6 separate regions of the Homo sapiens genome follow, and regions 1, 2, 3, 5 and 6 are each linked to region 4. Evidence: promoter capture Hi-C in 16 types of primary human blood cells and fetal thymus (Javierre and others, 2016). All regions are on one chromosome and are shown on one strand. The core of a region is centred on a gene start or on the middle of the fragment in contact, and the rest is flanking DNA. Distances in the headings are between cores, read along the strand shown.

Region 1 (2,986 bases), core at 103-2,602, 130 kb before region 4:
GGAGGCAATGCTTATTTTTTATAATGGGTACTTAATGAATGATTTAAGTATGCCACAGAACAATTTTAGAGTTAACTTGCTCTTGTCTTTTCAGAATGGAGACTTTAAATCATAAAGTACTAAGATCATGGAATGTTTTTAAAAAAAACAAGAGGGTAAAAAAAATTATAAAGCATTCATGTAATTGTTTTCTTCAGTACACACTTCTTATTCTGAAAGATTTACAAATTGGACATGAAAGCATGCCCAAGAGCCTAGTACAAATGTCACTGGAAAGCTGACAAAGCATAGGGGTTAAGAGTGTGATTTCTGGAGTCAGACAAAGTCATGTTCTGTCTGTCCTCCTTACTGACCCTTACTTTGGGCAAGTTACTTGATTTCTCTCTACCTTAATTTGCTCACTGTAAAATGGAGATAACAGTAACTTCCTAACAGAACTGTGAGGAAAAATGAATTAATACTTATGAAGTTCTTAGAATGATGCCTCATCATCATTGTGACAATGTGACACCCTCATGATCATTGTCACTGTTCTCTTTAGGCAGCTGTGATTCAAACTAGAAATGTCCTACATTTTGCATAATCATCTCACATCGTCACTTCTTTGGGCAGCAGTTATACCATAGTACATGTTTGCTTTATGCCATGACTTACAAACCTGCGTCATAATTTTTTTATTAGAAAGACGAATTTAAGTACTTCTGTTTCAGAGACCAAGAACATTTTTTAAAATATGATTAATAGTCTAAACCCCATTTTAACTTTTTTCTCTCCTTTCAGATAATTGGATCACTAAAAATTCCTGGTAGAAAAGAATTTAAAGACAAAAAGTTAAATGATCCTAGGAAACTAGTGGGAAACTGAGAAATCATAAAATTGTACTCTGAAGAAAAAGATTTCAAAATCTACCAGCAGACAAGAATATAGATAATGGAAAACAGAATACTGTCCTTTTTTTTTTTCTTTCTTTTTTTGAGAAAGAGTCTTGCTCCATCGCCCAGGCTGCAGTGCAGTGACACGATCTTGTCTCACTGCAACCTCTGCCTCCCGGGTTCAAGCGATTCTCCTGCCTCAGCCTCCTGAGTAGCTGGAATTACAGGCACCCACCACCACACCCAGCTCATTTTTGTATTTTTAGTAGAGACGGGGCTTCATTCACCACATTGGCCAGCCTGGTCTTGAACTCCTGACCTCAGGTGATCTGCCTGCCTCGGCCTCACAAAGTGCTAGGATTACAGGCATGAGCCACAGCACCCGGCCCAGAATAAGAATACTGTCTTGGAAATCTAGACTTAGTCAAGGGATCTTATGTTTTCTATTTACAAAATATGTAATGATTTCACCTTTAAAATATTTGTTATTATTATCTTTCTGTATTTTATTTAAAATTTGGATATATAGCAAAATATATGTGACTGAAATTTTTAATTTTTTTGTTTCCATTTATAGTGGATCAAAATATTTAAACATGCAGTTGCTGGGTGTATTATTTCACTCTTGTGGTTTTTTGGCCTCACTCTTTGTGGACCACTAAGGTAAATAAAAATGCATATTTTGAATGTGTGTTTGTATTTCTTCATTTTGAATATTATTTTTGTTCCACTGTGTTTTACGTCAAATATTTATCTGTACAAATGTGTCTAGCACTTTTATAGCATCAGAGAGAATTCAACAGATAGAACAAACCTGTTTAGTTTCTGGACTAGTTCTTTAGTGAATACCATTAATATATTTATTCATGATTTGTCATAGATATTTTACTAGTTAGAATTCCAAGTTTCAGAAAATTTTTAGCATAAACGGCTTTTTAATCATTTATTCATGATCCCTGTTAACAGCTTAGAAGCTATAATAAAAGGTCTGAAGTGGTAAATAAAATTAGCCAATAAGAAGGAGAACAAAAATCTCTAAAAGCACTCATTTTTTGCACAATTTTGCAAATACTCTCATAAATAAATGTCTCAGAAGTAGTATATCAATTATCAGATTAAATGCGTGGTGGATAAAGTAAACTACTCCCATTTCATATTTCCCTAGATCTATATAGATTAGTCTTTTTCTGCAAGTGGACTGGTTTAAGGAGGAAATGCTTAGGGACCATTGATAGGAATTGTATCATGCAGCTGTGTATGAGCATTCTTTTAACATTTCCCCATCTGTAAAGGATTTTACTTAGTGAATAAGTGTAAGAAAAAATGCCTTGCCGTGAGAATGAGAGGTAAGGAGTGAAATGAAGAATGTTCTTGGCCAGCACTGTGGCTCACGCCTGTAATGCTAGCACTTTGGGAGGCCAAGGGGTGGATCATTTGAAGTTACGAGTTGGAGACCACCCTAGCCAACATAGCAAAACCCCGCCTTTATTAAAAAATATACAAAAATTAGCCAGAAATCACTTGAACTCAGGAGGCGAAGGTTGCAGTGAGCCGAGATCACGCCACTGCACTGCAGGCTGGGCAACAGAGCGAGACTCCGTCTCAAAAAAAAAAAGAATGTTCTAAAGCAGAGAGATCCCCCACCCCCTGGCTATAGACCAGTATGGGTTCATAACTCATTAGGAACCAGGCCACAGAGCAGGAGGTGAGCCACGGGGGAGCAAGCATTACTGCGTGAGCTCTACCTCCTGTCAGATCAGCAATGGCATTAGATTCTCATGGGAGCAGGAACCCTGTTGTGAACTGTGCATGGGAGGGATATCTAGGTTGCATGCTCCTTATGAGAATCTAATGTCTGATGATCTGAGGTGGAACAGTTATGTCCTAAAACATCCCCCCACCACTGCTGTCTGGAAAAATTGTCTTCCAGGAAACCAGACCCTGGTGCCAAAAAGGTTGGGGACCACTGTTCTAAAGGATCTCACTCAGAATAGTGGGGTAGACAGAGTGGAAAGTGAAGGGTGAGAAATGTGGAAATGCTTTGTGAAAAGTCCTTTCCCCTCTCATGGCCAATAGAATAGCTTCTGGATTGGGATCCCTTTGACTTGTTTGTC
Region 2 (3,187 bases), core at 577-3,076, 160 kb before region 4:
TAGCCTGGGCAACAGTGTGGGACTCCGTCTCAAAAAAAAAAAAGAACACGACATCACTTCTGCAGTATTTCTGCCAAAATGATTATCCTAAATCTAATCATGGGGAAACATCAAACACAATCTGATGGACATTCTGCAAAATAATCGACCTGTCCTCTTCAAAATTCCAGGTCATGAAAGAAAGAAGAGACTAGGAACTGTTGCAGATAGAAGGAAACAAATGAGACACGGCAATTAAATGCAACACGTGATCCTGTATTGGATCCTGGATCTATAAATAACTTTATTGGGAAAAATCAGTAAAATTTGAATGAAGTTTGTGGATTAGAAGGTGCTATGGTGGCCGAGCACGGTGGCTCATGCCTGTAATCCCAGCACTTTGGCAGGCCGAGGCAGGTGGATCACCTGAGGTCAGAAGTTTGAGACCAGCCTGGCCAACATGGTGAAACCCAGTCTCTACTAAAAATACAAAAAATTAGCCAGGCATGGTGGCAGGCACCTGTAATCCCAGCTACTTGGGAGGCTGAGGCAGGAGAATTGCTTGAACCTGGGAGAAGGAGGTTGCAGTGAGCTGAGATCGTGCCATTGCACTCCAGCCTGGGCAACAAGAGTGAAACTCCATCTAAAAAAAAAAAAAAAAAAAGAAGGTGCTATGGTATCAATGATAATTTCCTGATTTTCATGGGCATTCTGTGATTACATAGAAGAGTATCCTTATTTTTATGAAACAGACACTAAAGTATTTAGGGGTGATTGGCATCATGTCTGTAACTTATTCTCAGATGGTTCTGGAAAAAGAAATAATCTTTATCTATACAGAGAGAAAAAGAATAATAAGGCAGATATGGTACGTTACTAACGATTAGGGAATCAGGTGGAGGGAACATAGGAGTTCTCTACAGTATTCTTGAAACTGCATTAAGGTTTTTAATTATGCCCACTTTAATAGCTGTAAAATATTTCTTATAACTCTATTTTATAAATCCCCGGCATCTATTTAATTCAAGATCAGAATACAATAAGAGCATGAAGGTAATGAGAAATAAGTCAGGCACAAAGAGAACTTATAAAGGTAAATAAGAGCTATTCACTAAATATACTAAGGCCTATGAATCTTAGGTTCAATTTTTTTTTCTTTTTTTTTTTTTTGAGATGGAGTCTTGCTCTGTTGCCCAGGCTGGAGTGCAGTGGTGAGATCTCAGCTCACTGCAACCTCTGCCTCTTGGGTTCAAGCGATTCTCCTGCCTCAGCCTCCTGGATAGCTGGGACTACAGGCACACGCCACCATGCCCAGCTAATTTTTGTATTTTTAGTAGAGACAGGGTTTCACCATATTGGCCAGGCTGGCCTCTTGGCCAGGCTGGTCTCGAACTCCTGTCCTCGTGATCCGCCTGCCTCAGCCTCCCAAAGTGCTGGGATTACAGGAGTGAGTCACCACGCCCAGCCCTTGGGTTCTATTTTTTAATTACATATGAAATTTTAGTATTAAAGAGCCAGAAGGAGCTTGAAAAGTCTAGTTCCTCAAGTCTTTTCGTCATACATGTTTACATTAGGATGAAGAATAGAAAGGGGCTGAGTACTGTGAGAAGCCAGGAAATGAGGTCCCATGAAGAGAGACATGTTTTCCAAGGAAAAGGACAAGGGAAGTCCACTCACCATGGAAGAAAGTGCCACAGGGCATGCTAGAAAGGCCAAGGACAGCAGAGGGATGGATGGAGGTGGGGGATACAGGTTGCTGCCAGGCAGTGGATGTGAGATGGGCCCCACCCTATTTTGCACCTCAGGCCTGCCAAGCCGGGATCCTTCTGCCCAGCCAGGCTCTGGGCAAGGAAGAGGGGTTCTGGGAGGAAGTCCCAAACTCGAAGGGTGAAGGAAGATGGCAGTGCCGAGGCTTTGGGAAGGGAGCCAGAGGCAGGAATTGGAATTGGGGCCTGGTTTCCCCATGGCAGATTTCATCCAGGTCCAGGATCTGCCCTCTCTTGGCATTGACTGGCCAAGCCATGGCTCAGGTATTCCACACCTGGGCCCGGAACCACATGCCAGAAAACCCAACACTGTTCGGCCCCAGCCGGCAACTTCCAGCAGCCAGGAGCAAACAGGACTTGTGAAGGAGGCAGTGGATCTCCAGAGCCCAGCAGCAGGGAGGCTACTTTCCGGGAGAGGGCAGCAGCACAGGAGAAGGCCCTGCCGCCTACAGGGGTCCTACTCCACTCCGGGACCCTGCCCATCTGTGGCCATCCTCCCACCAGCAGCCTGTCACCTCCCATCCCTCCCGCTGGTGACAGGCACCGGGGTACCGTGCCCAGCCCCCGGGCACCTCCACAGGGCTGCCATGTGGCAGAGGAAGCCGGTGAACTGACGCTTGGCTGCAGCCAGGCAGGCCTAAGCTCTGTTGCCCCGCCGCATCCCAGCTACACCCACAGGCCTGGATGCCAACCAGCTGGCGTCAGTGCCCGCGGTGCCTTCCAGCACCCGCCTGTCCTGGAGGAGCTGCACCTGTCCCCTAATATCTTCACCCGCCTCTTAGGGGCAGCCTTCTCGGCCCTGGCGTGCATGGTGCACCACCTCCACCTCTCTGAAAAGCTGGCCTGGGTGCCCGTGGAGGCCTTCGTGGGGCTGCAGATCCAAGTGAACCAATCCGCCAACCCGTGAAACTGGGACTGTGCCCTCCAGGGAGTGCTCAGGCTGGTGAGGCTGGCGCCGGGCACCAGGACAGGCATCGTGTGTGACCCCAGAACCCGACCAGACCTCGGTGGGGCAGGAGCTCCTGCCGCTGGCAGGGGAGGAAGAGCTGTGTGGGTCGGGGCAGGGCCCAGAGGAGCACCAAGGTGGCCCCTGCCGTTGAGGGGTGGCTGACCTGGTGCATTATGTATGGTAGAACCGAGATGAAACCTGGCGCACCCTCAAGCGGCCCCTGTTGCCAGTGCACCCAGAGGATGACTCCACCCTCAGCACAGTGGTCTAAGGGTGCTCCTGGGGCCACACCACACACTCCTCCTCCTACGCCCTCTCCCTTCCTCTGACCCCCCGCCTTCTCCCTTCCTCTGACCCCCTCGGCTTCCTGTGCAGCCTCACCCCAGCCCCCTAAATACCTGTCCTCTCTCCTCTCTGTCTCTCTCTGTCTCTCTCTCTCTCACACACACACACACACACACACACGCCATCTCTAGTGCCTGGATTTATCTGG
Region 3 (3,218 bases), core at 462-2,961, 220 kb before region 4:
TATAAAGTATTGAGTATTGAGAAATTTGGGCCAGCAGTGATTTTCAACCCTGAGACATTCAACTCAGCTAGAGAGTTGTCTGTGTGTGTGTGTGTGTGTGTGTGTGTGTGTGTGTCCCCTTCCTTATTTAATTGATCTGATGGGGGATCCAGGCATCAGCCTTTTTTAACCACTTCCCAGGTGATTCTAACACGAGGCTAGTGTGAGAACCACGGGGCAGAGGGATTGCAGTGTTTCCAGGGCGTTCCAAGTAGCAGGCAGAGCCTCAGACACATCTGCTTTACATTCCCATTGTTAAAAACTTGTCATTCTTAGCAGAAGGGAAATTCCACCCACAATAGCAGTAGATGCTGTGTACTTTGGTCTGGCTTCTCTAACCCTCATAGAACCTGCAGCTGGTACAGACATTCCCCAAGCAAGCAAGGGTCCTAGAAAGCTACCGAATTCTCGCTAAACCAGTGCCATTTTAAACTTAAAGCTGACTTTGCCACATCAGAACTTACACTAATAATCCATGTACCTCCACATAAGGGAATGTATTTCAATGCCAAGCTCTTCAGGTTCTATAACATATTCATTGACAAAGCTACATCTTAGGGTAGTAGAGAAACTAGAGTCAATGCCCATATGTTCCTGAATATTAATCTTTCTCCAGCATTCCTAGAAGTTTGCCTCTCTATGAAGTTTAAAAGAGCTATATCCAGCCAGGCACAGTGGATCATGCCTGTAACCCCAACACTTTGGGAGGCCAAGGTGGGCAGATCACCTGAGGTCAGGAATTCAAGACCAGCCTGGCCAACATGGCGAAACCCTGTCTCTACTAAACATACAAAAATTAGCCAGGCATGGTGGCGCGTGCCTGTAATCCCAGCTACTTGGGAGGCTGAGGCAGGAGAATCGCTTGAACTTGGGAGTTGGAGGTTGCAGTGAGCCAAGACCACACCACTGCACTCCAGCCTGGGCGACAGAATGAAACTGTCTCAAAAAATAAATAAATAAATAAAATAAAAATAAAAAACAAGCTATATCCATTTCTCCTGAGCACTATCTCACAGTGAATTTTTAAAGTAAATTATCTGGCTTCTGTGGCCATCAATTTTCACTTTTGAAATTTGGCAATGATAATCCTCACTGTAACCTACCAACCACATATTTGGCCCTTACAATGTATCAGGCACTCTAAGCTCTAGTATCTAGAGATGGACTAACCCTACAAAACAAGCACCATTTTTCCAAGTTCTCAATGAGATACCTCATGGCTAGTAACTGTTAGAACTGGGATTTAAATTCAAATCTGCCTGACTCCAAAAACAACAATCTTTTCACAATGCTCTACTGCCCACAGAAAATCTGTTGGAAGGTCAGTAACACAACAATAAAAGTAAATATTTGTATAGCAAATAACAGCATCACCCCAATGTTCTTTCCTACCCTGAGCCAAAGAAAGGCATTTTTAAGTCCCAGCCTTAACATCCTCAATCATGTCAAAGAAAAGTCCGTAAAGCAACCAAGTCCTCTGAGAATGGAAATTCTTCCTGGTTAATTTGTGGGGTGTGTTATAAAGTCACTACTAAATTGTTGTGTAATCAGGTCCTATAGACATTGACTCATTATGACCAGTAGAGTGGGAACCGGAAGGTCCAAGAGACAGATGGACATATTTTGCAGTCAAGTAGGAAAGAAAATTATCACCAAGCAATGCCAATTCCTATGCAGGCCAGGCTCCCTGAGAGGGAAAGGAGATTTTGAGCATATGTCAGGAATATTTATTCAGCCACATTCAAAGCCAGATACACTCAGTGCCTACCCTCCCCAGTCTAATGGTGGAGTGTTAACCAAATAATCTCACAAACATGATTATGTGAAAAGCGCTAGGAAGGAAAAGCACAGTATCTTTTGACAGCATATAACGGAGCACTTCATCTAAATGGAGGGCAGGGAGCAGGCACATATAGTGAAGAAAGCCTTCCCTGAAGAATTTTTATTTTCTGAGTAAGAGTTAACTGTTCCCAAGTTAGCTGATGCTACATTCTGGATTATGTAACAATGATGGCCAGACATGATCTACTGCCCTACCTTTATCATCATCTTCTTCTTCTTCTTCTTCTTCTTCTTCTTCTTCTTCTTCTTCTTCTTCTTCTTCTTTCTTCTTCTTCTTCTTCTTCTTCTTCCTCTTCCTCTTCCTCCTCTTCCTCTTCCTCTTCCTCTTCCTCTTCTTCTTCTTCCTCTTCTTCTTCTTCTTCCTCTTCTTCTTCTTCTTTTTCTTCCTCTTCTTCCTCTTCTTCCTCTTCTTCCTCTTCCTCTTCTTCCTCTTCTTCCTCTTCTTCTTTCTTCTTCTTCTTCCTCTTCTTCCTCTTCTTCCTCTTCCTCTTCTTCCTCTTCCTCTTCTTCCTCTTCTTCCTCTTCTTTTTTTTTAATGGAGTCTCACTCTGTCACCCAGGCTGAAGTGCAGTGGTGCAATCTTGGCTCACTGCAACCTCTGCCTCTCGGATTCAGGCAATCCTCCCACCTCAGCCTCTAGAGTAGGTGGGATTACAGGTGTGCGCCACCACACCCAGCTAATTTTTGTCTGTTTAGTAGAGATGGGGTTTCACCACGTTGCCCAGGCTGGTCTTGAACTCCTGGCTTTGAGTGATCCTCCCGCCTCGGCCTCCCAAAGTGCTGTGATTACAGGCGTGAGCCACCACACCCAGCCCCACCTCTGTCTTCAAAGCCATCAACCAGGCCCATAAGATAATGGACATGAGCCATTCAAGTTGTCTGTAACTCCTGATTTTTCTGGCCTTCTCCTCTTCAAAGGCTTGAGTTTCTAGGTTTTAGTCTTAATGACATGAATCCACACCCCTCCCTTTTCCTGCCCCCACTGTTCTCCTCTTCCTCACTCTTAACACCCAGCCTAACAACTGCATAGCCATGAGCTAACGGCAATTGTCCCGTATCTTCAAAGACAAGAATATTAGTGTTCTTTCCAGCCTTTTTGGAACAAAGAAAGTTGACCACAGCTCTCTACAAGCCAAGTGAATTGACTACATACCTATAACATTTGGTCAGCTACATCCAGCCAGGCTTGTCTTACATAAGCAAGGAAAAACATCACCATAATGTACAAGCCCCTACCTTATTGGGTATGTTATACAAACGCTGGAGGGATATTGTACTTTGAATATTTAAATCCCAGTAGAGTTGGCCGTTCTCACAGAGACAACCCAGACTTGAAG
Region 4 (3,123 bases), core at 147-2,646:
CCAACAAGGTGAAACCCCGTCTCTACTAAAAATACAAAAATTAGCTGGGTGTGGTGGAGCAGGCCAGTAATCCCAGCTAATCGGGAAGCTGAGGCAGGAGAATCGCTTGAACCCAGGAGGCAGAGGTTGCAGTGAGCTCAGATCGGGCCAGCGTACTCCAGCCTGAGCAACAGAGTGAGACTGTCTCAAAAACAAACAAACAAACAAAGGCAGGGGGAGGGGGGCACATTTCCATGTTGACAGCTGCTCTGGCTCAGAAACTTTTAATTATCCACTAGTAGAGCCATCTGGATTACTGCAATAGTTCTCTAATAGGCCTTCTTTCTTTTTCTTGTCCCTCAAAATCTATAATATAGTCTCCCAACAGCAAGAGTGAACCTTTTAAAAGTGAGTCAGGTCATATCACTTGTCTGCTCCAATCCCTCCAGTGGGTTTTCAGTGATGACTTTCTTGTACCACCCTATTTAAAACCTCCATCCCTGCCCCTGCCCTGATTTGTTATCCTTTATCTGCTTTATTATCTCTATAGCACTTATCACCTATGTATCATAACACATATTTGACTTGTTTTTTTATCTCCTCCCATTGGAAGGCAGGGATCTTTGCTCCCTGCTATCTCAGATTCTACAATGGTGCTTGGCACATAGATAACACTCAATATCAGCATCCTAAGAGAGAGAAAAATGAAAAAGGAAAAGCACTCAATATGTTTTTGAATAAATGAATTAGTGTGTTTGTTATGACAATTTATGATAATCAAGGGGTTGGGTACTCATTACTGCTAAGTTAATTGAGCACTGTCTCAATTAATTGAGTTAATGTCTAAGCTTTCTGCATGTTTCATTTAATACCCACAATCTCCTGTGATGTAGTTCATTATTTTTTCCATTTTACCGAGTAGAAAACTGAGGACTAGAAGCTGATTCCCACAGCACGTTTCAGTTGAGTTGGATTTTGTTTTCCTGGGCCTGCTTCTTCATAAAGGGACTGGACTAAGAATACTCTTGACCAGCCCGTAAGAACTTGGCACTCGTCTCAGTAATCTGAGATAGCAGGGTTTGGCGTCCATAGCAACCACGGCGACAGGACGCGCTCGAGCAAGAACCAAAAAGCGAGAACAGGTACAAGGCCAAACTTTCTACATTCACAGACACCTACCAAACCCCGAACATGGAACACCAAATTAGAACGCTGACCAGTTCCTGGTAATGTAGAAAACACCCAAGTTAAAACGGCAACAGAGTGACACAGCAGCCATTGAAGATGCCCCACTTCAGGCACCGACAGGCGTCACGTGACGGGTGGGGAACGCCAACCGCCTGGGCCTAGCGCAGCTTCCTCCGCCCACCACGGAAGTGAGGCGGGGATACTAAAGCGACGGAGCCCGGTGGACGGAAGTGGGTGTTGGAGGCTTTAAGGTAGCTTTAAATTCGTGTTGTCCTGGGAGCTCGCCCTTTTCGGCTGGAGTCGGGCTTTACGGCGCCGGATGGCTCTGGACGTGAAGTCTCGGGCAAAGCGTTATGAGAAGCTGGACTTCCTTGGGGAGGGACAGGTGAGGCTCTCTGGAAGGACGGGGAGGGCCCCAAGCGGACAGCCCCGCGCCGCCTCCACCTTTGCGGGTTTTCCCGTGGAGGCCAGAGGTCTGGCTTGGCTGCTCGTTCTCGTTGGGGGAAACCGTCCAGACGCACTTGCTGCCCATTCTTTACATCCTGGGGGTGAATCCCTGAGGGGCCTCTCCTTGCTGAAGAGTAGCCTGGAGCTGGACGGAGACTGACCCGCCACGTTTCCAGCCGCCGCGAGTCTGCTCAGGAACTCTGGGCTCTTTGCTTCGCGAAATGTAAAAATGCAAAAAGGCAAACACAAAAACTCCCATAAACTTATGTTATTTCTATTTTTCTTTCTAGTTTGCCACCGTTTACAAGGCCAGAGATAAGAACACCAACCAAATTGTCGCCATTAAGAAAGTGAGTTACCTTTTTATGTTGTTTTTAAGTCTCCTTGAAGATGTCTGTATTATTAATTGACTGATAGCCATTTTATTAGTCTTGACCATACTCTGATAATGAGTTACTCATGTCATTTTCAGAGACAAAATAATTAATTAGTGCTTTGTGTTCCCAAACGGAACTCTAGGGTTGAACCCGTTTTAATTTCTATTGAAATGAAGAAGAAGCTGTATGTTATTTTTACTGCATAAATTCATATGTTGTGGGCAAGTACTGCCCATCTTTTCGGTCCTCAGAACTATTGGATACCATGATCTTTCTAGGTCACTGTTTATACCTCACCTGCATCCACTCAGTGTGTCGTATCTGTATTTTCTGTGTACGGATTTACCATGAAAGACTTTCACTAGCATGAACAACATTGATGTGAGGTCTAAAATGAGTTCAGTAGCTTCTTATATTCATTCAAAAGACCTGGGTCGGATTCAGTAGCTTCTTATATTCATTCAAAAGACTTGGGTCGGGCCAGCCGCGGTGGCTCACGCCTGTAATCCCAGCACTTTGGGAGGCCGAGGTGGGCGGATCACTTGGGGTCAAGAGATCCAGACCATCCTGGCCAACATGGTGAAACCCTGTCTCTACTAAAAATACAAATATTAGCTGGGTGTGGTGGCACCTGTCTGTAATCCCAGCTACTCGGGAGGCTGAGGCAGGAGAATCACTTGAACCTGGGAGGTGGAGGTTGTAATGAGCCGAGATGGTGCCACTGTGCTCCAGCCTGGTGACAGAGGGAGACTCCATCTTAAAAAAAAAAAAAAAAAGATTTGGGTCATAATTACATAACTCACGTTCACCTACATTGTTTCTTTTAACCTTCAAAACAATCTATAAAGTGGTTAAAAGTAACCCTATTTTATACTTGAGGTACCTGAGACTGAGTGACTAGGTGACTTGTCAAGATCACACAGCTAGTGATTGCTGAAGCTGGGATTTAAATCCAGGTGTCCTGATGTTGCTTTTGTTACCGTTGCTACTTTGAATCTGCTTCTCCTGCTTCAAAAACCCTAACTCCTTGGAAGTTATCCATATTTAACATTAATTCCCCCTTTTTTTGGTCATCTTCCAGCCTCCAAGTACTGTCTTGCATTCATTTAAAACCTGACTGACTACTTCTTCT
Region 5 (3,490 bases), core at 196-2,695, 240 kb after region 4:
TCTTGAACTCCTGACCTCAGGTGATCCGCCCACCTCGGCCTCCCAAAGTGCTGGGATTACAGGCGTGAGCCACTGTGGCCGGCCACCTCTTTTCTTTGCGAATTACCCAGTCTTTTTCCAGCGGTGACGACCTACCCAGGAGAACATGCCTCTCACAAAGGATCTCCTTCATCCCTCTCCAGAATAGGGGAAGAGGAAACACAAGAAGCAGTGCCTGATGCAGAGCCCCAATTCCTACTTCATGGGTGTAAATGCCCAGGATGGTACAAAATCATCACAGTCTTTAGCCATGCACTAACAGAAATTTTGTGTGTTGGCTGCTCCACTGTCCTCTGCCAGCCTACAGAAAGAAAAGCAAGGCTTACAGAAGGATGTTCCTTCAGGAGGAAGCAGCATTAAAAAGCACTCCGAATCAAGATGAGTGGGAAATCATCTCAATAAACACTTTTTTTTTTTTGAGACTGAGTTTCACTCTTGTCGCCCAGGCTGCAGTGCAGTGGTGTGAGCTTGGCTCACTGCGACCTCCGCCTACCAGGTTCAAGCAATTCTCCTGCCTCAGCCTCCTGAGTATCTGGGATTACAGGCATGCGCCACTATGCCCGGCTTATTTTGGGGTTTCATCATGTTGGCCAGGCTGATCTTGAACTCCTGACCTCAGGTGATCTGCTCACCTCGACATTCTAAAGTGCTGAGGTTACAGGCATGAGCCACTGTGCCTGGCCTCAATAAACACATTTTGGATAAAAAATAAATAAATTACCCAGTCTCTGATATTTCTTTATAGCAATGCAAATGGACTAACACAGAGACATTATTGTGAGTGGTAAAGGCAGATTAAATGTCTTGCTTAGAATTACACAGCTGCTACTTGACTTCAAATTATACTATGAGACTACAGTAACCAAAACAGCATGGTACTGGTACCAAAACAGATACATAGACCAATGGAACAGAACAGAGGTCTCAGAAATAACACCACACATCTACAACCATCTGATCTTTGACAAACCTGACAAAAACAAGCAATGAGAAAAGGATTCCCTATTTAATAAATGGTGCTGGGAAAACTGGCTAGCCATATGGAGAAAACTGAAACTATACCCCTTCCTTATAGCTTATACAAAAACTAAGTCAAGATGGATTAAAGACTGAAACATAAGACCTAAAACCGTAAAAACCCTAGAAGAAAACCTAGGCAATACCATTCAGGACATAGGCATGGGCAAAGAGTTCATGACTAAAACACCAAAAACAATTGCAACAAAAGCCAAAATTGAGAAATGGGATCTAATCAAACTAAAGCGCTTCTGCACAGCAAAAGAAACTATCATCAGAGTGAACAGGCAATCTACAGAATGGGAGAAAATGTTTGCAATCTATCCATCTGACAAGGTCTAATATCCAGAATCTACAAGGAACTTAAACAAATTTACAAGAAAAAAACAAAGAACCCCATCAAAAAGTGGGCAAAGGATATGCACAGACACCTCTCAAAAGAAGACATTTATGCAGTCAACAAACATATGAAAAAAAGCTCATCATCACTGGTCATTAGAGAAATGCAAATCAAAACCACAATAAGATACCATCTCATGGCACATGTATACCCGTTAGAATGGTAATCATTAAAAAGTCAGGAAACAACAGATGCTGGAGAGGATGTGGAGAGAAATAGGAATGCTTTCACCCTGTTGGTATGAGTGTAAACTAGTTCAACCATTGTGGAAGATAGTGTGGCGATTCCTTAAGGATCTAGAACCAGAAATACCATTTGACCCAGCAATCCTGTTACTGGGTATACACCCAAAGGATTATAAATCATTCTATAAAGACACATGCACATGCATGTTTATTGCAGCACTATTCACTATAGCAAAGACTTAGAACCAACCCGAATTCCCATCAATGATAGACTGGATAAAGAAAATGTGGCACATATACACCATGGAATACTATGCAGCCATAAAAAAGAATGATTCACGTTGTTTGCAGGGACATGGATGAAGCTGGAAACCAACGTTCTCAGCAAACTAACACGGGAACAGAAAACCAAACACTGCATATTCTCGCTCATAAGTGGGAGTTGAACAATGAGAATACATGGACACAGGGAGGGGAACGTCACATACCAGGGCCTGTAGGGGGGTGGGGGAGAAGGGGAGGGAGAACATTAGGACAAATACCTAATGCATGCGGGTCTTAAAACCTAGATGACGGGTTGATGGGTGCAGCAAACCACCATGGCACATGTATACCTATGTAACAAACCTGCATGCTCTGCACATGTATCCCAGAACTTAAAGTATAATTTAAAAAAACTACGCAGCTGATTTCTGACAGAGCTGAGTTCATAACTGGATTTCCTTTGGATGTTTCCCTCTTTTCTTCTCTTGTGTTGCCAGAACTGATATCAAAGGGAAGGAATACAAGAGAAATATTCAATTTCACTACTTCTTTGATAGTTTGATATGTTGTCCCTAGAAGGCCATGATAATGATATGTTGTCTCTAACTTTCAGGCTAATTATAGGTACAGATAATGGGTGGTTATTTGGACTATTTTAAAAAATAGAGACAGGTTCTCACTATGTTGCCCAGGCTGGTCTCGAACTCCATGGCTCAAGTGATCCTCCCGCCTTGGCTTCCCAAAGTGCTGGGATTACAGGTGTGAGCCACCACACCCAAACTTTTTTTTTTTAATAGGTTCTCACTTTGTCACCCAGGCTGGGGTGCTGTGGTGTGATCATGGCTCACTGCAGCCTCAACCTCTTGAGCTCAAGCAATCTTCCCACCTCAGCCTACCAAGTAGTTGGGACTACAGGTGCTTGCCACCACACCCGGCTAATTTTAAAACTTTTTTCGTGGAGATAAGGTCTTGTGCTGCCCAGCTTGATCCTGGATTCCTGGGTTCCAGTGATCCTCCCACCTCGGCCTCCCCCAGTGTGGAGATTACAGGCATGAGCCATTGTACCCAGTCTATTTGTCCGATTGATTTATTGAGTTGTGGAGTTTGCTGAAGGAAACCGCACCTATGTTTTTGTTTCTAAGGCTAATATTTTCCCTTATGTTTGACAATACATTGATGTGCTAAGACTCTGCAGTGAAAATAGTTTTTTTTTTTTTTTTTTTTTGAGACAGAGTTTTGCTTTTGTTGCCCAGGCTGGAGTGCAATGGTGCGATCTCGGCTCACCGCAACCTCCGCCTCCCGGGTCCAAGCCATTCTCCTGCCTCAGCCTCCCGAGTAGCTGAAATTACAGACATGCGCCACCACGCCCAGCTAATTTTGTATTTTTAGTAGAGACGGGGTTTCTCCATGTTGGTCGGGCTGATCTTGAACTCCCGACCTCAGGTGATCTGCCCACCTCAGACTCCCAAAGTGCTGAGATTACAGGTGTAAGCCACCATGCCCGGCCTGAAGATAGTTTCTTAAAGGCAGTGTGGTATATTGGACATAATGTAAGATATACAGTCAAACTGTGTTTGAATCTCAG
Region 6 (3,035 bases), core at 325-2,824, 190 kb after region 4:
CTCCCAAAGTGTTGGGATTATAAGTATAAGCCACTGTGCTTGATGGAAAAAAATAGTTTTATAACAAGTACCTACATGTTATACAAAGGACTTTGACATGTGTCCATGTGATCTCTCTCTCTATATATTTTAAATTTTTTGTAGAGACGGGGTCTTGCTATGTTGCTCAGGCTGGTCTCAAACTCCTGGCCTCAAGCAATCCTCTCCCCTCAGCCTCCCAAAGTGCTGGGATTACAGGCATAAGCCACCATGCCTAGCTTGATTGTCACAAAATAATTTATCTTGCTAGAACTCTACATAGATTCAAGTTATTTCTAAAAATGTGTCTTAGCATTTTAAGCATATTTCTTACATTTTTGTTTTTTTATGTAACCTTCACATGTATTAAATTTTTGTTTCTTAAAGTTACAATTTATTTCTTAAATGTACATCTCTGTGTACAAAGTAAAAAATGTTAATTCTAATCAGTATGAAATCCAGATAGTGAAACACATACTTCCTCATAAATTTATGCTAGTTGCATAAGTTATTAAATCTTAATATTTAAAAATTCTATATGAATAGAATGATCAACATAATACTTTTATTTCTTTTTCCTTTCTCAACAAAAACTTATGTCTATGAGACTTTTCATAATGCCTAATTAGACTTCAGTCACCTGATGTTGAAAGTTGTGCCTGTCTGTACGTTGCTATAACTTCCTAAAGGTTAGAAGATGTAATGGCCTAGGGCTTTTTTCTATTAATTTTATAGAGTAATTGTCCTAACTCTTTAATCATGCAAAGTAATGGGAGGCAAGAATAAATAAAATTTGAGGGTAATTCAGAGTGGTTTATCTAACAGTTTCCACCATCTCCGTATTCCCTACTCCTCTCTATGCCCTGATTGACAGGGAATTACAGTTATCCCTCTTCTCAGTTCTCCACTGGCCCTTCAAAACCTAGGCAAAAAAAGGATGAGAAACACCCGTCAAGTAGAGGATCAACCTCTTAAAATTGAGGTTGGGCTATAAATGCAAATGGATGAAAATATTTGCAAAGTAGCTTCACATGCCTTTGAAAAACTATTTGAACTCTTTTTGTTCCAGATAAATGAGCCATCATTGTCATCGAAAAGGAAAATGGTAAGAATAAAGTTTACTTCATATTATGCTTTAGATTTGTTAATACTTTTCTCTTAGGTCTGTTTATCTACATAGTAGTATCGTACATCTGTGAAATGTAGCTATTGGCCAGGTGTGGTGGCTCACACCTGTAATCCCAGCACTTTGGGAGGCTGAGGAGGGCGGAGCACTTGAGACCAGAATTTCAAGACCAGCCTGGCCAAAATGGTGAAACCCTGTCTCTACCAAAAATACAAAAATTACCTGCACGTGGTGGCACACGCCTGTAATCCCAGCTACTCTGGAGGCTGAGGCACGAGAACCACTTGAATCTGGGAGGTGAAGGTTTCAGTGAGCCAAGATCACGTCACTGCACTCCAGCCTGGGTGACAGAGTGAGACTGTTTAAAAAAAGAAAAGAAAAGAAAGTGTAGCTATTACATGCAGCCATAAAAAATGATGAATTCATGTCCTTTGTAGGGACATGGATGAAATTGGAAATCATCATTCTCAGTAAACTATCGCAAGAACAAAAAACCAAACACCACATATTCTCACTCATAGGTGGGAATTGAACAATGAGATCACATGGACACAGGAAGGGGATTATCACACTCTGGGGACTGTGGTGGGGTCGGGGGAGCGGGGAGGGATAGCATTGGGAGATATACCTAATGCTAGATGACGAGTTAGTGGGTGCAGCGCACCAGCATGGCACATGTATACATATGTGACTAACCTGCACAATGTGCACATGTTCCCTAAAACTTAAAGTATAATAAAAAAATATATATATATTAAAAAAAAAAAAAGAAATTGTAGCTGTTACATCGAGTTCATATTAGGACTTTGAGCTTTTTTCCAGATACTAAAAGGACCAAATTAAACAATCATATCTATAGCTGCTTTTAATTTTGTTAGATGAAAATTTATGCAAGTAAACAAACCAACATATGTTTGAAATTTAATTATTTTTTAAATGAAAGTGATTCTCTGAAACTTTCTTCACTTGTATTTAAAGTTCTGTGCTGTTCTTTGTATCCTTCTCACCTTGCTTTCAGATGCCAAATTTTTTACTACACTCACAGGACAGTTAAAAAAGAAATTAATAATAATAATACTTTTTTTTTTTTTTTGAGATGGAGTCTCTGTCGCCCAGGCTGGAGTGCAGTGGCGCTATCTCGGCTCACTGCAAGCTCCGCCTCCCAGGTTCACACCATTCTCCTGCCTCAGCCTCCCGAGTAGCTGGGACTACAGGTGCCCACCACCGCGGCCGGCTAATTTTTTGTATTTTTAGTGGAGACGGGGTTTCACCATGTTAGCTAGTTTCACGAGGTCAGGATGTTCTCGATCTCCTGACCTCGTGATCCGCCCGCCTCGGCCTCCCAAAGTGCTGGGATTATGGGTGTGAGCCAGCATGCCCGGCCAATAATACTTTTTTTTAAAGATGCCAAATTTTGTAGTGTCAGGGAATTTCTATTCCACAATTTACCAACTGTGTGGCAGCAGACAAATTATTTAACCTTTCTATGCCTGCATTTCTTCATCTGTGAGATTGCAATAATAATAATTCATACCTCGCAAGTTTGCTGAGAGGACTCAGTGAGATGCTGTTATCATTATTTACATATATGTAATAATTTATTTTAATAATCATAATTTTACCCTCATTGAAAATTTTACCCTCATTTTTTGAGATACTGGACATTATTATTATTATTATTATTATTATTATTTTTAGACAGAGTCTTGCTCTGTCGCCCAGGCTGGAGTGCAGTGGTGCGATCTCAGCTCACTGCAACCTTCGCCTCCCAGGTTCAAGCAATTCTCCTGCCTCAGCCTCCTGAATAGCTGGGATTACAGGCGCCCGCCACCACACCCAGCCAATTTTTGTATTTTTAGTAGAGACAGGGTTTCACCATGTTGGTCAGGCT

The links. The method cuts DNA at HindIII sites, captures the fragments that hold promoters and counts their contacts. A CHiCAGO score of 5 or more calls a contact.
Region 1: a fragment that was not itself captured here is called in contact with the fragment with the promoter of CDK7 in region 4 in 11 of 17 cell types (erythroblasts, monocytes, M0 macrophages and 8 more); the score reaches 10.3 in erythroblasts.
Region 2: a contact is called between a fragment that was not itself captured here and the fragment with the promoter of CDK7 in region 4, in 5 of 17 cell types (neutrophils, total CD4 T cells, megakaryocytes and 2 more). The highest score is 10.6, in neutrophils.
Region 3: a fragment that was not itself captured here is called in contact with the fragment with the promoter of CDK7 in region 4 in 2 of 17 cell types (neutrophils and megakaryocytes); the score reaches 6.4 in neutrophils.
Region 5: a contact is called between a fragment that was not itself captured here and the fragment with the promoter of CDK7 in region 4, in 1 of 17 cell types (erythroblasts). The highest score is 5.1, in erythroblasts.
Region 6: a contact is called between a fragment that was not itself captured here and the fragment with the promoter of CDK7 in region 4, in 1 of 17 cell types (neutrophils). The highest score is 6.2, in neutrophils.

What each region holds. Positions count from the first base shown.
Region 1 is chr5:69,103,182-69,106,167 of GRCh38, forward strand. It overlaps SLC30A5 (solute carrier family 30 member 5), which reads left to right. Exons shown (of 16, transcript NM_022902.5): 4 at 1,450-1,535. Among named protein-coding and RNA genes, the nearest start is that of SLC30A5, 11 kb to the left of the region's middle. The HindIII fragment of the contact is 4,406 bases long and covers 1-2,986 here.
Region 2 is chr5:69,072,716-69,075,902 of GRCh38, forward strand. It overlaps the pseudogene LOC100130639. Among named protein-coding and RNA genes, the nearest start is that of SLC30A5, 20 kb to the right of the region's middle. RefSeq lists a silencer at 2,333-2,501. The HindIII fragment of the contact is 6,468 bases long and covers 1-3,187 here.
Region 3 is chr5:69,011,831-69,015,048 of GRCh38, forward strand. The region is part of intron 1 of LINC02198 (long intergenic non-protein coding RNA 2198); the gene reads right to left. Among named protein-coding and RNA genes, the nearest start is that of LINC02198, 16 kb to the right of the region's middle. The HindIII fragment of the contact is 9,639 bases long and covers 1-3,218 here.
Region 4 is chr5:69,233,490-69,236,612 of GRCh38, forward strand. It overlaps CDK7 (cyclin dependent kinase 7), which reads left to right and starts at 1,397. Exons shown (of 12, transcript NM_001799.4): 1 at 1,397-1,552; 2 at 1,905-1,964. The coding sequence starts at 1,487. RefSeq lists an enhancer at 1,119-1,647. The HindIII fragment of the contact is 18,686 bases long and covers 826-3,123 here.
Region 5 is chr5:69,469,738-69,473,227 of GRCh38, forward strand. It overlaps the pseudogene RPS27P14. Among named protein-coding and RNA genes, the nearest start is that of OCLN, 21 kb to the right of the region's middle. The HindIII fragment of the contact is 4,373 bases long and covers 1-3,490 here.
Region 6 is chr5:69,423,514-69,426,548 of GRCh38, forward strand. MARVELD2 (MARVEL domain containing 2) reads left to right here. Exons shown (of 7, transcript NM_001038603.3): 3 at 1,088-1,123. Among named protein-coding and RNA genes, the nearest start is that of MARVELD2, 9.9 kb to the left of the region's middle. The HindIII fragment of the contact is 8,540 bases long and covers 1-3,035 here.